2 separate regions of the Homo sapiens genome follow, and region 2 is linked to region 1. Evidence: promoter capture Hi-C in human tissues and cell types (Jung and others, 2019). All regions are on one chromosome and are shown on one strand. The core of a region is centred on a gene start or on the middle of the fragment in contact, and the rest is flanking DNA. Distances in the headings are between cores, read along the strand shown.

Region 1 (6,109 bases), core at 169-2,668:
TTTGTATTATCACACCAACCTTTTCTAGCAGTGTTTTTCAAACTGCCAGTCATGATCAACAAGAAGGAGAATAAGATAGGATAGGATAAGCATAGAAACTATCAGTGCGTCACAAGTAGTAAGCATTGTTTTCGGAAACTTTATGACACTCTCATACAAATAGCAGTGTACTGGTCTGTATGCAAAATGTATTTCTCTTGATGGACTATGTTTTTTTTTGTTTGTTTTTTTTTTTTTTTTTTTTAAGCCATCGCGCTAAGGTGTAGGTGTGATTAACCTCGTTTTACTGATGAGGACATGAAGCTCAGGGAGTTTCGGTACCCTGCCTAAGTTAGTGGGATGTGTAGGTTTCAAACCCAGACTGGTCTGAAGCCAGAATGGATTCCCTCACTAAGCTAGGCAGCCTTCCCAAGTTCTCGGAAGAGACTTGGGAGCAAAGATAAACCTACCCGCCTAGTGCCTACCAAGTGCTTTACCTCATCTCAAGAAGGTAAGGGTAAGTGGGGCAGAGGCCAAGCAGTACTTCTCAAACTCAAGCGTGCAATTCTGTCCACGCGAGGCCCTTGCTAAAATGCAGATTCTAGGCACGCCCCGTGAAGTACCGAGTCGGATTAGGAGAGGCGGCCAGGGGAGCCTGCCTTTAGAAAGAGCTTCGGATGATTCAGATGCACACGTTTGGGACCGTGGGCTATGGGGGTCGCCGCAATAACCATGTGAGGATTAACGGGGGCTTAACCGATTGTGAAAATCCCCTTAGAAGTGTCGCGTAAACAACCCCAACTCCCACTATGGTGCCGGACCCCAGTGCCTCACTGTACAAAGTCGCCCCTCCCCAGGCGACAACGAGAGAGGGACTAAATAAAAGGTTGATGGCTTTCCACTCACCAGGCATGGGGTTGAGTGGCAGCCGGCTACTGCCGAAGAGCAGGTAAAAGCTCCTGCCACACCTGGGCGAGACTGGACTTAGGGCGCAATGTATATGCTATTTCTGGGGCATTTGTGGGCCTCACCCTAAGGACTTCTGATTGGCTTCAGGGCAGATCTATCATTCATCCTCTGGGTTAGAGGTGGGTGGAAGGTCAACCTCGACCAATACAAAAGCACTCTTCGGCTAAGCCCCTCCCCTTCCAGCTTCCTGTTGCTGTACATCAACCACCCAGCGGGCGGGACTTTGCCTCCCTCCAATTGGCTGATGCACATGTCACTCATTATTCAATTGGCTTTCGGTTGGTGCGCTCTACCGTCCATCAGTGACATTGCACAGACCTATTGGTCAAATCAACGTCGCTCTAGACGCCTCTGGTTGATTGGTTAATAGTGCTGTCGGTCCCCAATGTTCCAAGCGCTTATTGGTGAAGGCTGCCGTCGCTCGGGCGGTGGCGGGCTCCGGGATTGGCGGTTGCTTGGCGGGCGGTGTCAGGCTCTCGGTGGCGGCGGAGGCGGCGGAGGCCAGGGAGGAAGATGTCGTAATGAGCGGTGGGTCCCGGCCGCTGCCGGCGGGGTCTTCCCGGCCCCCAAGGGTCAGGAAGACGGGCAGAGGCCGCGGGGAGAGGGAGCCGAGGCCGGGGGTTCCCCCCTGGGGCTGGGTCTGGCGTCGGGGCCCGGCTTCAGGAGGGGCGGGGGAGGGAGGATTCCCGCCCGGAGGAGGAGCGGGGCTGGCCAGCCGGGCGGAGGCACCCGGAAGGGGGCGTTCGACTCCCCGCCCCCTCGGAGCCCGCCGGGCGGGAGGGCGGCGCTTCCGGGGGCCGGCGAGAGGAGCGGGCACCGGGGTGGCCTGGCACCCCTCGGACGGGTGCCGACCCACTTCAACGCCGCTCTCCCGCCTGGGCGAACTATGCCTGGGTCGGCTCTGAGGAGGCAGCCAACAGCCCTTGTGTTCGCCCCGTGTCTGAGAGGCCTTCCTGCACTCTTAACTGTAGATGCCCACCAGCGATTCAGGGCTCCCCGGAGAACAGAGAGGGGCGAGGGAACGCTTGAGACCCGGACGCTGCCAACCAGATGGGCACTGCTCGGCATCGACGACAGCCCGGTTACTGATATATCCCCAGTCGGGCGATGGTGTCAGGACACGAGAGCACTCCCTGGGCAGATGACCTCTCACCGGGGAGTGGGCAAAAACCTTCCTTTAATGTTTTTACTTGGATCCTTGATCTTCCAGCTAGATATCTGCAAGCTCTTAGCAGAATTGTGAGAAGTTTGAGAACTTCTTGCCAGAGCTCCCAGCCTGTTACTTGACGCCCCGTAGGGGAGACTACTGCAGTCCCAAAGCTCAGGCGCAAACAATCTTAAGGAATTACAGAAGAAATAAAACAAAATAGATACTCGCTCTCTTCCTGTACCCACCTCCATCCCCATTGCTGACTTACGGTTTTCAGCCTCTTATCCATGCTTCTTATGTTTCCTTGCCAGCGGCTTTCTAATTTTAGTTCAGAAGGAACTATGTTTTCTCCTCTGGGCAACTGAGAAACCTGTCCTCACTGCATTCCTTGGTTTTGATTGCAATATCCTGTCATGTTTGTTTCTTAATTAACTTCATCCAAGGGGACTCAGTCTGGCCTTTCTCAGTGCATTCTCCCAAAGTTCTTTCTTCTTCTGAGGTTACTTCTTGTTCACTTATTGTTTCCTAGAGAAAGGTATGAGCCAGTAGATCTGCTTTAAACAATGAATTGGCCCAAGTTTCCCGTTTACAGATTTCATTACAGATGGACACTGTTTCAAGGTGCACTGGCATGCACTGTCTAAAACGGTTTCATGCTGTACCCCAGAAGGCATTCAGTTTCACAGTGGAGGGCTGTATTGAGTTGGTATTCTGGATGATACAATTTTTAGGGCTAGAAAGTTTAGAGTGTTGGCTGGCTCACAGGCTGCAAAGGAAATAATGGTGGAGTCCAGACCACAGCAGTAATTTCAATTACTAACACAAAGAAACCCATTGTCTGCAATAATGAATATAACTGCAGTGTCTTGTTTTGTTTTAAATTCTTGTGTGCGATGAAGGGGGCGAATCTATCAGACAACCTATCAATTGGGCTGATGATGTCAGTGTTCCAGTGGCTTCTAACAGGCGTTAATACCTGTTGGAAATGGATTATCATTGGCTGGGACGATTGGTAAGTTTTCTAATTCTAGTTCTTCCTCTTGGTTGTACAGAGGCTTAACCTCTTTGGTTAAAAGCAACTACAAGAAAAAAAGCGAGTCTGACATAATTATGAACCCCCCTGAGCTAGGCTGCTGAAGCCAGAAACTCTTTGCCAAGGAGACCCAAGTAGAGTTTGTTAATAATCGGATCCTCACCTGACTGCCCAACGGGGAGAACTGGCTCCGGGAGAAAGAGTTTGGCATCACTCTGGACAGCAGATAGACTGGCCACTTTTTTCTCTCAGATTCTATTAAAGTTTGGGCCTCTGGAGAGGCCTGTCAGAGAGGAGAAAAGAAATTATAAGATTTGGGCAAATGTCTGGGGTAAAGAAGCTTTATGGCATTTCAGCAAGTAGAGTGGTTGGTTCATTTGGATATTTTGGCCTTGAACTTCTTATTTCTTCTGGTGGTTAATACCAGCTTTTTGGAGAAGTTGAACAGTCCTTTGCTATAGGTCTGTGGCAGATCCCAAGTACTGTCAGCAAGTATAGTATTGCCCAACCAGGGCCCTTATGAAGACATTTTAAACTTGTTGCAGCCAACCAGTAGACCTTAGTATTGGCTTGGTTTCAGCCATCTTCTAAACCTTGCCCACTCATTTCTGTGATAGATATGTATAACATGTTTTTTTTCTAATACTTATTTTTTCACACACACCCCCCTTTTCTGTATACACAAAAATTGGAAACCCTGCTTCCAAACACTGAAAAACTTAGGATATTTTGGATCAGGTGGACAATGGCTATGGAATGAAAGATGCAGAGAAACACTGCTTTAAAGAGTATGTAGAGAGTTACAGAGTTTAGGGATGCAGTAGCGTGAACACTTCTGAGTTTACAAGATTTAACCTCATGGCCCCATCTTAAATCTTGCGGGCTGCAAACCTGGAGTAAAATCTGTTCAGGGAAGCTCATATGCTTTCTTACAAGTTCATTGGGTGATATGTCTGGAGTTTTCCCTTTTTGCAACTGACTTGGATTTGTCGGAATTTCTTCCCAGCACCTACAGGCTGAACTAAACCAGTATCCAGTACATTTCTGGGCTGATAAATGGACATCATTTTGGAATGCATTTGTTGCTTTTTTGCTTGTTTTTGCCTTGCTTTTGTTTTGGATATGCGTGCAACTCCTTGTATGACGTTGTCTAGACCTGTTGTAGGAGGAAAAAAAGTTCTTTCTCTTTATTTCTTCCCTTGTAGAGCCAACACTTAGATCTTTATGTTTCTGAAATGTAGTTGAGTGTCTTTTTAAAGATGCTCTTCCTCAATTATCAGCAGATCTTTTTTTGGCTAGCAGCATTCTCTTAGGAGACCTTGGGGTGGAGGAGGTCTCACTTTTCTGTCAGCAATCTATTGGAGCAAGGTGGAAAGATGAGTGAAGAGGGTAAAAATATGTGACATTTCTTTTTTTAAAATAATAGAGGCATAGTCTCTCTATGTCAGGCTGGTCTCAAAACTCCTGGCCTCAAGCAATCCTCCCACCTCAGCCTCCCAAAGTGCTGGGATTACAGGCATGAGCCACTGTGCCTAGCCAACATGGGACATTTCTAACTCGAGGGTATTGTCAGGCCATGTAGGAAAGGGAGCAGAGATTGCCCTTGAGGAGATGCTCCCAGGTGGCAGATTTGTCCTACTTGATAGATTCCAAAATGGAAAACGGATTTTTCTGCTGCCTCTGGGGACACTGAAAAAAGAACCTCCACATGAGTTCAGAGGCAGCACCGGCAGCTTAGGGGAAGTCATGGCTTCCACTGCGTGTCTAGGAAGCGCTCTTTCAGGATGCTCTGAGGCTGCCACTGGCACAGGGGAATACTGTGCTTCTCATCAGACTGGGCTGCGGGCTGATGTGCTCTTGGGAGATGAGCTCTGCTCAGGAGCAAGAGGTTGTGAAAGGGCTGATGTTTCTTAGGCTCCCCCAATGAGCAGCTCCAAGCAGTGCTGAGATGTCTAGGCCGTTTGTGTCACAGGACAAGCACACTTGCAGACCCAACTGTTGGAATCCTTCATTGGCATATCATTCCCATTGCTGCTGTTTGTCTCCACATCAGAATTGCTTGCTATACTTAGCCAGAAGCCCTGCCACATTGCAGTGCAGAGGCTTAGCTTTCTTGTTTTTGTTGCTGAGTGCTCTGAGATACCAGTTTGTCCCTTTGTGGTGATTTAGGCAGTTAGGTGGCCTTTGATCTCATTCACAGAGTAAAAATGGCTCAGGAGGAGCCAGCAGACACTAGCGTACACATTTCCAAATGTCATCTTTCTAGAGCCTTCTCTTTGGGGTTGTCACCTCTCCTATAGAATTTGGTAGAATCACAAAGTGGTCTCCAAGAGAGTGTGAATAGGAAGTAAGAGTGAGCAGGCAGGCCATGTAATTGGAAGTGGAATATCTCTGCTCTCAATTGATAATTAGGAATCTTCTTAGATCAGCCTAGAAGAAAACAGACCAAGACATTTCCCAGCCTCCAAAAAAGTAAATGGTAAGCCAGCCCTGTCTTCTCAGGGGAAATGAAATCACCACTCATTTCAGAAGCTGATTCTGGCCTGGGGCCGGGCTGGGTGATCACGCCTGTAATCCCAGCACTTTGGGAGGCTGAGGCAGGCAGATCACTTAAGGTCAGGAGTTCGAGACCAGCCTGGCTAACATGGCAAAACCCCATCTCTACTAAAAATACAAAAATTAGCCATGTGTGGTGGCACACGCCTGTAGTCCCAGCTACTGCAGAGGCTGAGGCACGGGAATCACTTGAACCCAGGAGGCGGAGATTGCAGTGAGCCGAGAGCGCACCACTGCACCCCAGCCTGGGTAACAGAGCAAGACTCCATCTCAAACAAAAACAAAACACTGATCATGGCCCAGGATAAATGTGGGGAGTGACTCACAAATAAATGTGCCAAAGCACATAAAGAGATTCTTTAGGGGAAAAAGTATATCTTGCTTCTTTTTTTTCTCCTGTTCTCTAAAATTCTGAGGCCCAG
Region 2 (5,709 bases), core at 527-3,026, 1.0 Mb after region 1:
TCAGCCTCCTGAGTAGTTGGGACTACAGGCGCCTGCCAACACACCCGGCTAATTTTTGTATTTTTAGTAGAGACGGGGTTTCACCATATTGGTCAAGCTGGTCTCGAACTCCTTACCTCAGGTGATCCACCCACCTCGGCCTCCCAAATTGTTGGGATTACAGACGTGAGCCACCGTGCCCGGCCCAGACTTCTTTTTTAAAAAACCAAACTTGGTGGCAAAACATCCAAAGTGAGGCTATTCATTTGACTTGGTACGAATGTTCATACACTTTGATGCAGAAATGTCAATAGGTTTGGCTACCCGGCGCTGCCCCACTCCTTGCTTGGTGTGTCATTCCAAAGTCTGAAATACATCTGGCCCCACTGGTTTCCAGTTAATATTGATCCTATATTTTTGCTAGGGAAAAAAGTTTTTGTTTTTGTTTTGAGACGGAGTCTTGCTCTGTCGCCCAGGCTGGAGTGCAGTGGCACGATCTCCGCCCACTGCAAGCTCCGCCTCCCGGGTTCACGCCATTCTCCTGCCTCAGCCTTCCGAGTAGCTGGGACTACAGGCGCCCGCCACCACGCCCGGCTAATTTTTTGTATTTTTAGTAGAGACGGGGTTTCACAGTGTTAGCCAGGATGGTCTTGATCTCCTGACCTAGTGATCCGCCCGCCTCAGCCTCCCAAAGTGCTGGGATTACAGGCATGAGCCACCGCGCCCGGCAAGGAAAAACAGTTTTTTAGGAAGGCCCCTGTCATTCTTAGTCCATAGGAATTTTTTTTTTTTTTTTTGAGACGGAGTCTGGCTCTGTCGCCCAGGCTGGAGTGCAGTGGCGTGATCTCAACTCACTGCAAACTCCGCCTCCCGGGTTCAAGTGATCCACCTGCCTAAGCCTCCTGAGTAGCTGGGACTACAGGTGCACGCCACCACGCCCGGCTAATTTTTGTATTTTTAATAGAGGCGGGGTTTCACCATGTTAGGCTGGTCTCGAACTCCTAACCTCGTGATTCGCCCACCTCGGCCTCCCAAAGTGCTGGGATTACAGGCGTGAGCCACCGAGCCTGGCAGATTATTTTTCACTTTAAACATTTTAGGAAAGACCCAAAGAATCCTCAGGGTTTACACTCACAGTACCTCGATTCCTGTATATTCCAAGATTTGTGGGAAGAAAAAGTACTAAGCTTGGAGTCAGGAGGCCTGATGTTTCTTCCTTTCACCAAGCTTCTCTAGTTCTGTTTCATTATCCCCATGGCAACAACTAGCAACAGTGACTGGCATTTAGTAGGCCCTTCATAAATATATGTTGAATAAACTCTAAAAGAGGTAGCTTTTCATTCCAAGTTGAGTTCTCTCTTGGTCCTGTTGCAGGCAAGGGCAATGGTACCCTGCCCTAGGTGCACAAGTGTGCAGGAGGGATCAATCGCAGAGCCTTTCCGAGAGAAGGGGCCCAAAGCGAGTCAACTTCTCTACTGAGCTTCCCATGAGGATGCTGGATCCCCAATCCTAACCATGCAGACGTCTGAGGGTCGCCGCCATTAACGGGAATGATATGGCCCTTCCTCCCCCACTCCCTCCTCTCTTCTCCCCTTTCAACACTTGAATTGGGCTCTCCGCTACTTCCGCACAGCGCAGGACCCACACGAGCCCAGAACCATCACGGCCTGCTAGTTCCCACCCCTCCCGTCCTGGAGGACCGTAGGTGGACGCTCTTGCAGAGCGCCTCTCGCTGGTTGGGGCGGGGGTGGGCGGAGCCAGCACCGTCTGGGCTGTGGAAGCGGAGGGGGTGGGGACACTCTGGCCCGGTTCTCGGTGGTGCGGGAGCGGGCGGGAGCAGCGGCCGCTCTGGTCGGCGGACGTGCTGCCGAGTAGTCCCGGAAGCGAAGCAGCGATGGCGGAGAGTCCGACTGAGGAGGCGGCAACGGCGGGCGCCGGGGCGGCGGGCCCCGGGGCGAGCAGCGTTGCTGGTGTTGTTGGCGTTAGCGGCAGCGGCGGCGGGTTCGGGCCGCCTTTCCTGCCGGATGTGTGGGCGGCGGCGGCGGCAGCGGGCGGGGCCGGGGGCCCGGGGAGCGGCCTGGCTCCGCTGCCCGGGCTCCCGCCCTCAGCCGCTGCCCACGGGGCCGCGCTGCTTAGCCACTGGGACCCCACGCTCAGCTCCGACTGGGACGGCGAGCGCACCGCGCCGCAGTGTCTACTCCGGATCAAGCGGTGAGCCGGGGTTTTTCCTCCCCCAGCCCCGAGCTCCGGGGCTCGACCTTCCCCGCCCCCCACCCTCTCCCACTACAACTCACCCCCCACCCACTGCGCTGCCCTCGCGGCGGCCCACCTCCACGGCCCAAATCTTGCCAGCTCCGGGCGTCGGGATCCAACTCCCTTCTCCCCCCACCCTCAGACCCGCAAGCACCAACCCCCGCCTCGTGTGCCCAGATCCGACCCCGCCCCTCGACAACCTCCCGTGAGCCCTCCGTCTCCATTCCGGCCACCCTCCCCCACACCTCCCACCTCCGGGTGGAAACCCGACCCTTTAGCGCTTCAGTAACGCCCCCTCCCGCCTTCGGCGCCGCCCCTATTTCCCCTTCCCCACCCCAACCTTGCTAGATGCTGCCCGCAGGCCCCACCCATCGGTCCCCTCTCTTCTCCTCTGGAGCCCCGTTCCTAACACAGACGAACTCAGCTTCCTTTGCCATGCCTCTGACTCGAGCCAACCTTTCTTTTTATCCTCCGTTTTTCTCAGATTCCCTCCACACAGTCTTTTCCCAGGTCTAGATCGCTTCCCTCGCCCCAATCTTTCCTTGAACCCCTTTTCCAGTGTCCCAAAGCTGTCCACTCTTACGCCTCTTCCAGAAACACAGGCTACCTCCCCCCAATTCCCCAGTGCCACTCTGGATTGTAATATCCCACTCAGGAGCTTCTTTCTTGTAATTTCCCTCCCCCCACCCCCCACCCTCCCCGGGTCGTCTGTTTTACTTCTATGAAGCAAATATACTCATCAAATATAGGAACAAAGGCCTAAGTCCTTTCTGTGCTTATTTCTTGGGTGACTGATCTTAGATCCTATCATTTAGTAGATGATGTTTTCCAGAAGCACATAGAATAGTACCTATCGCATAAGAAAAGGGCAGTGCTCTTTAGCTATTAATCCTGAAACCTGTTTGACTTCTCCCCATGCCCCCATCACAAGCATCTTCGTTTAGTTCTTATTCCCCATGTTCCACGTCCTTTCAGATGTCTCTGTGTCTACTTTTCAAGGTTGTAATAAAAATTAATATAATGTGTGTAAAGTACCTGGCACAGTGCCTGACACAGGAGGTCAACTGTGGAGGGATTGCCACCTCTAACTGAAACTCAGCACTCAACTCTTTTCCTCCTCCAGCCATTTCAGTCATCCAATTCTGACATACCTTTGAGTTTGGCCAATGCTTTCCTCTGCTTTGTCGCCTATTTGCCCTTTTTATGTCCCTACCCACCCTAGCAAGTCCCTAGGCTTTTCGCCACCTAGAATGTTCTTTAGCCCCTTGCTCTCAACTGATCCATTCCAGTTGGTGAGATATGAGTCAGAAATCTTATCTCCTATGGAAGTCCACATGTCATCTTCCAGATGGGAGATTCTTAGCAATTTCTGAGGATCCCTCCCCAGCCTGAAGAGATCTCTACCCTGAGACACCCCTGGGCAAGAAGGCCACCATGATAGTCTTACTCTCTGCTGGCTGGCTTGCTTCATACAATCCCCTTACCAATAAAGGTCCACTGTATAGTTTATAGAATTAGTTTTTTAGTGGAGTTGATGATGCCTTTCCAGTTACTAAAAAATCTTCATTTAGCATTCAGTCGTAGTACCTGGGAATCATGGAGGTGGGGAGTGAATGAATTGCCATGTGGGAGGAAGTGAGAGTAAGTGGAAAGTGGCTTTTCCAGGCTGACATTTGATGCCATTGGGATCTCTGATTTTTTTCCTCTCTCCCTCCCCTCCCCCTGAGGAAACAATGCCCTTTTGATAATAATTTGCTCTCTGCCTGCCTGACAAGTACTCAGCTGAGATTTCTCAGCCAACAAGACAGTACAAACACTTGCGGTACCAAGCACCACTTTCTCAAACCCTGGCCTCATTGAGGTGATAACAACTGTCCTGCTCAAGGGATTCCCCCTTTCCCCCTCTTCCTCACTCCTTCCCCCACCTCCTCTTGGTGTTATACAGGGATATCATGTCCATTTATAAGGAGCCTCCTCCAGGAATGTTCGTTGTACCTGATACTGTTGACATGACTAAGGTATGTAACTTGATGGGGGTTTGGGGGGTTTTGGGAAATTGGGGGCCATAAGGTTGCAAAAGCCTAAAAGAGATTATTCAGCTCACCTCTCCGATTACACAGATGAAGAAATCAAGACCCCAGGAGAGTAAGTGGCTTGTCCAAGGTCACATAGTGAGGTGGAGCAGCACTTTGAAGAGGTGTCTGTTATTAGTGTACCCCATAGGTACTGATTGGCTTGGAAAATCCCAGTTCATGTCTGTTGTCGCAGCTTGACTATTTATAGGGCATTCTTTCACTCTCAAAAATGCTCCTGTTTGGATAATAAATTATATGGTCACCCTATCCATTGTACTACCCAGCTCTTCCCCCATCCCGTTACTCTTGACATTAACTATGCTATGGTACTATAAATCAGATGTAGGGAAGGTTGGGAATAGGGCAAGCTTGACTGAAGTGTTTGTGGTTAAAGGACTTTGCTCAGGATCCTGTCCTTACTGGTTGCGTTTAAGTATCCCTTCCACCCCAAAGACTATACCTCTCTTGTCCTCCTCTCAGAGAGAAAGCTTAATACATAATGTCACATTTCTCTGGCATAGATACCTAGGTTTCTCTGTCACTGAATGCTCTACCCACAGAAGTGCAGTTGCACTTAAACTGATGTTAGAAAGAAATCATATTTCCTAAACCTAATGCTGTTTAAGTGAAACACATAGTTTTCTTACAGTAAATTTCTTACAGTAAAAATTCAGATTTTGTATTGTTGGTGTATCTTTTTTTGTTGTTTTGAATAGATTTCCCTTCATATTTTTTTTTTATGTAGTTAGAAATGTTTTTCCTAGGACATCTCGTCCTCAGTCAAGTACCAGTGTTAATAGCCTAGTACCTGGGGTCCCAGAGTTGATGCCATGTTGAGACCAGTTGAGTTTACTATTCCAAATGACTGAGAGCCAGAATATGACGTAGGGTCTTGCCAGGAGGGCAAGGTGGGAACTATAGACTTAGGCATTGGATTGCCACGTCCCTTTCCTTTTGCTGTTCAAATGCTTAGCAGACCTAAATGCCTAGGAGCCTTTGTGGAAGAAGAAATATAACTGAGTCAGTTCAGGTTTTCCTCCCTTCAGGGGGGGAAATCCTGTTGAAGAATTATGGCTTGAGGGGGAAGAGAATTTAGTGTCGTTTTCAGGACGGCTGATTTTTTTTTTTTTTTTTTTTTTAAACAGTATTGGGGAAAGTTCTGGGACTGGTCTAATGGCTCTGAGTGGACCCTGAGTCTTCCCCATTTTCAGTCATGATGTGCTGCCTGAGCCACATCCTCCACAATAGGTTTGATCCTCTGCAGAGGAAGCAAGCAGATACCCTAGGCATCCATCACACCCCCTAACCCTGCTGTGTTACTGGCACTGGGCTGTGGCCTCCAATCCCTTTCTTCGTCTCCTTTCATCATACTTTCCCTTCGTGCCACATAAATGTAGGGTGG

The links. The method cuts DNA at HindIII sites, captures the fragments that hold promoters and counts their contacts. A contact is called where the count stands out against the background at its distance.
Region 2: the fragment with the promoter of UBE2Z here is called in contact with the fragment with the promoter of SP2 in region 1 in 1 of the 25 tissues and cell types used here (hippocampus).

What each region holds. Positions count from the first base shown.
Region 1 is chr17:47,894,818-47,900,926 of GRCh38, forward strand. It overlaps SP2 (Sp2 transcription factor), which reads left to right and starts at 1,419. Exons shown (of 7, transcript NM_003110.6): 1 at 1,419-1,476. The coding sequence starts at 1,470. It overlaps SP2-DT (SP2 divergent transcript), which reads right to left and starts at 999. Exons shown (of 3, transcript NR_135480.1): 1 at 886-999. It overlaps SP2-AS1 (SP2 antisense RNA 1), which reads right to left. Exons shown (of 3, transcript NR_103857.1): 3 at 3,569-4,486. RefSeq lists a silencer at 1,489-1,918 and an enhancer at 5,267-5,771. The HindIII fragment of the contact is 13,929 bases long and covers 1-5,301 here.
Region 2 is chr17:48,906,631-48,912,339 of GRCh38, forward strand. UBE2Z (ubiquitin conjugating enzyme E2 Z) reads left to right here and starts at 1,777. Exons shown (of 7, transcript NM_023079.5): 1 at 1,777-2,190; 2 at 4,178-4,250. The coding sequence starts at 1,874. It overlaps LOC105371814 (a long non-coding RNA gene), which reads right to left and starts at 2,353. Exons shown (of 4, transcript NR_135674.1): 1 at 2,309-2,353. RefSeq lists silencers at 1,916-2,165, 2,436-2,565 and enhancers at 3,439-3,488, 3,509-3,558. The HindIII fragment of the contact is 7,727 bases long and covers 1-5,709 here.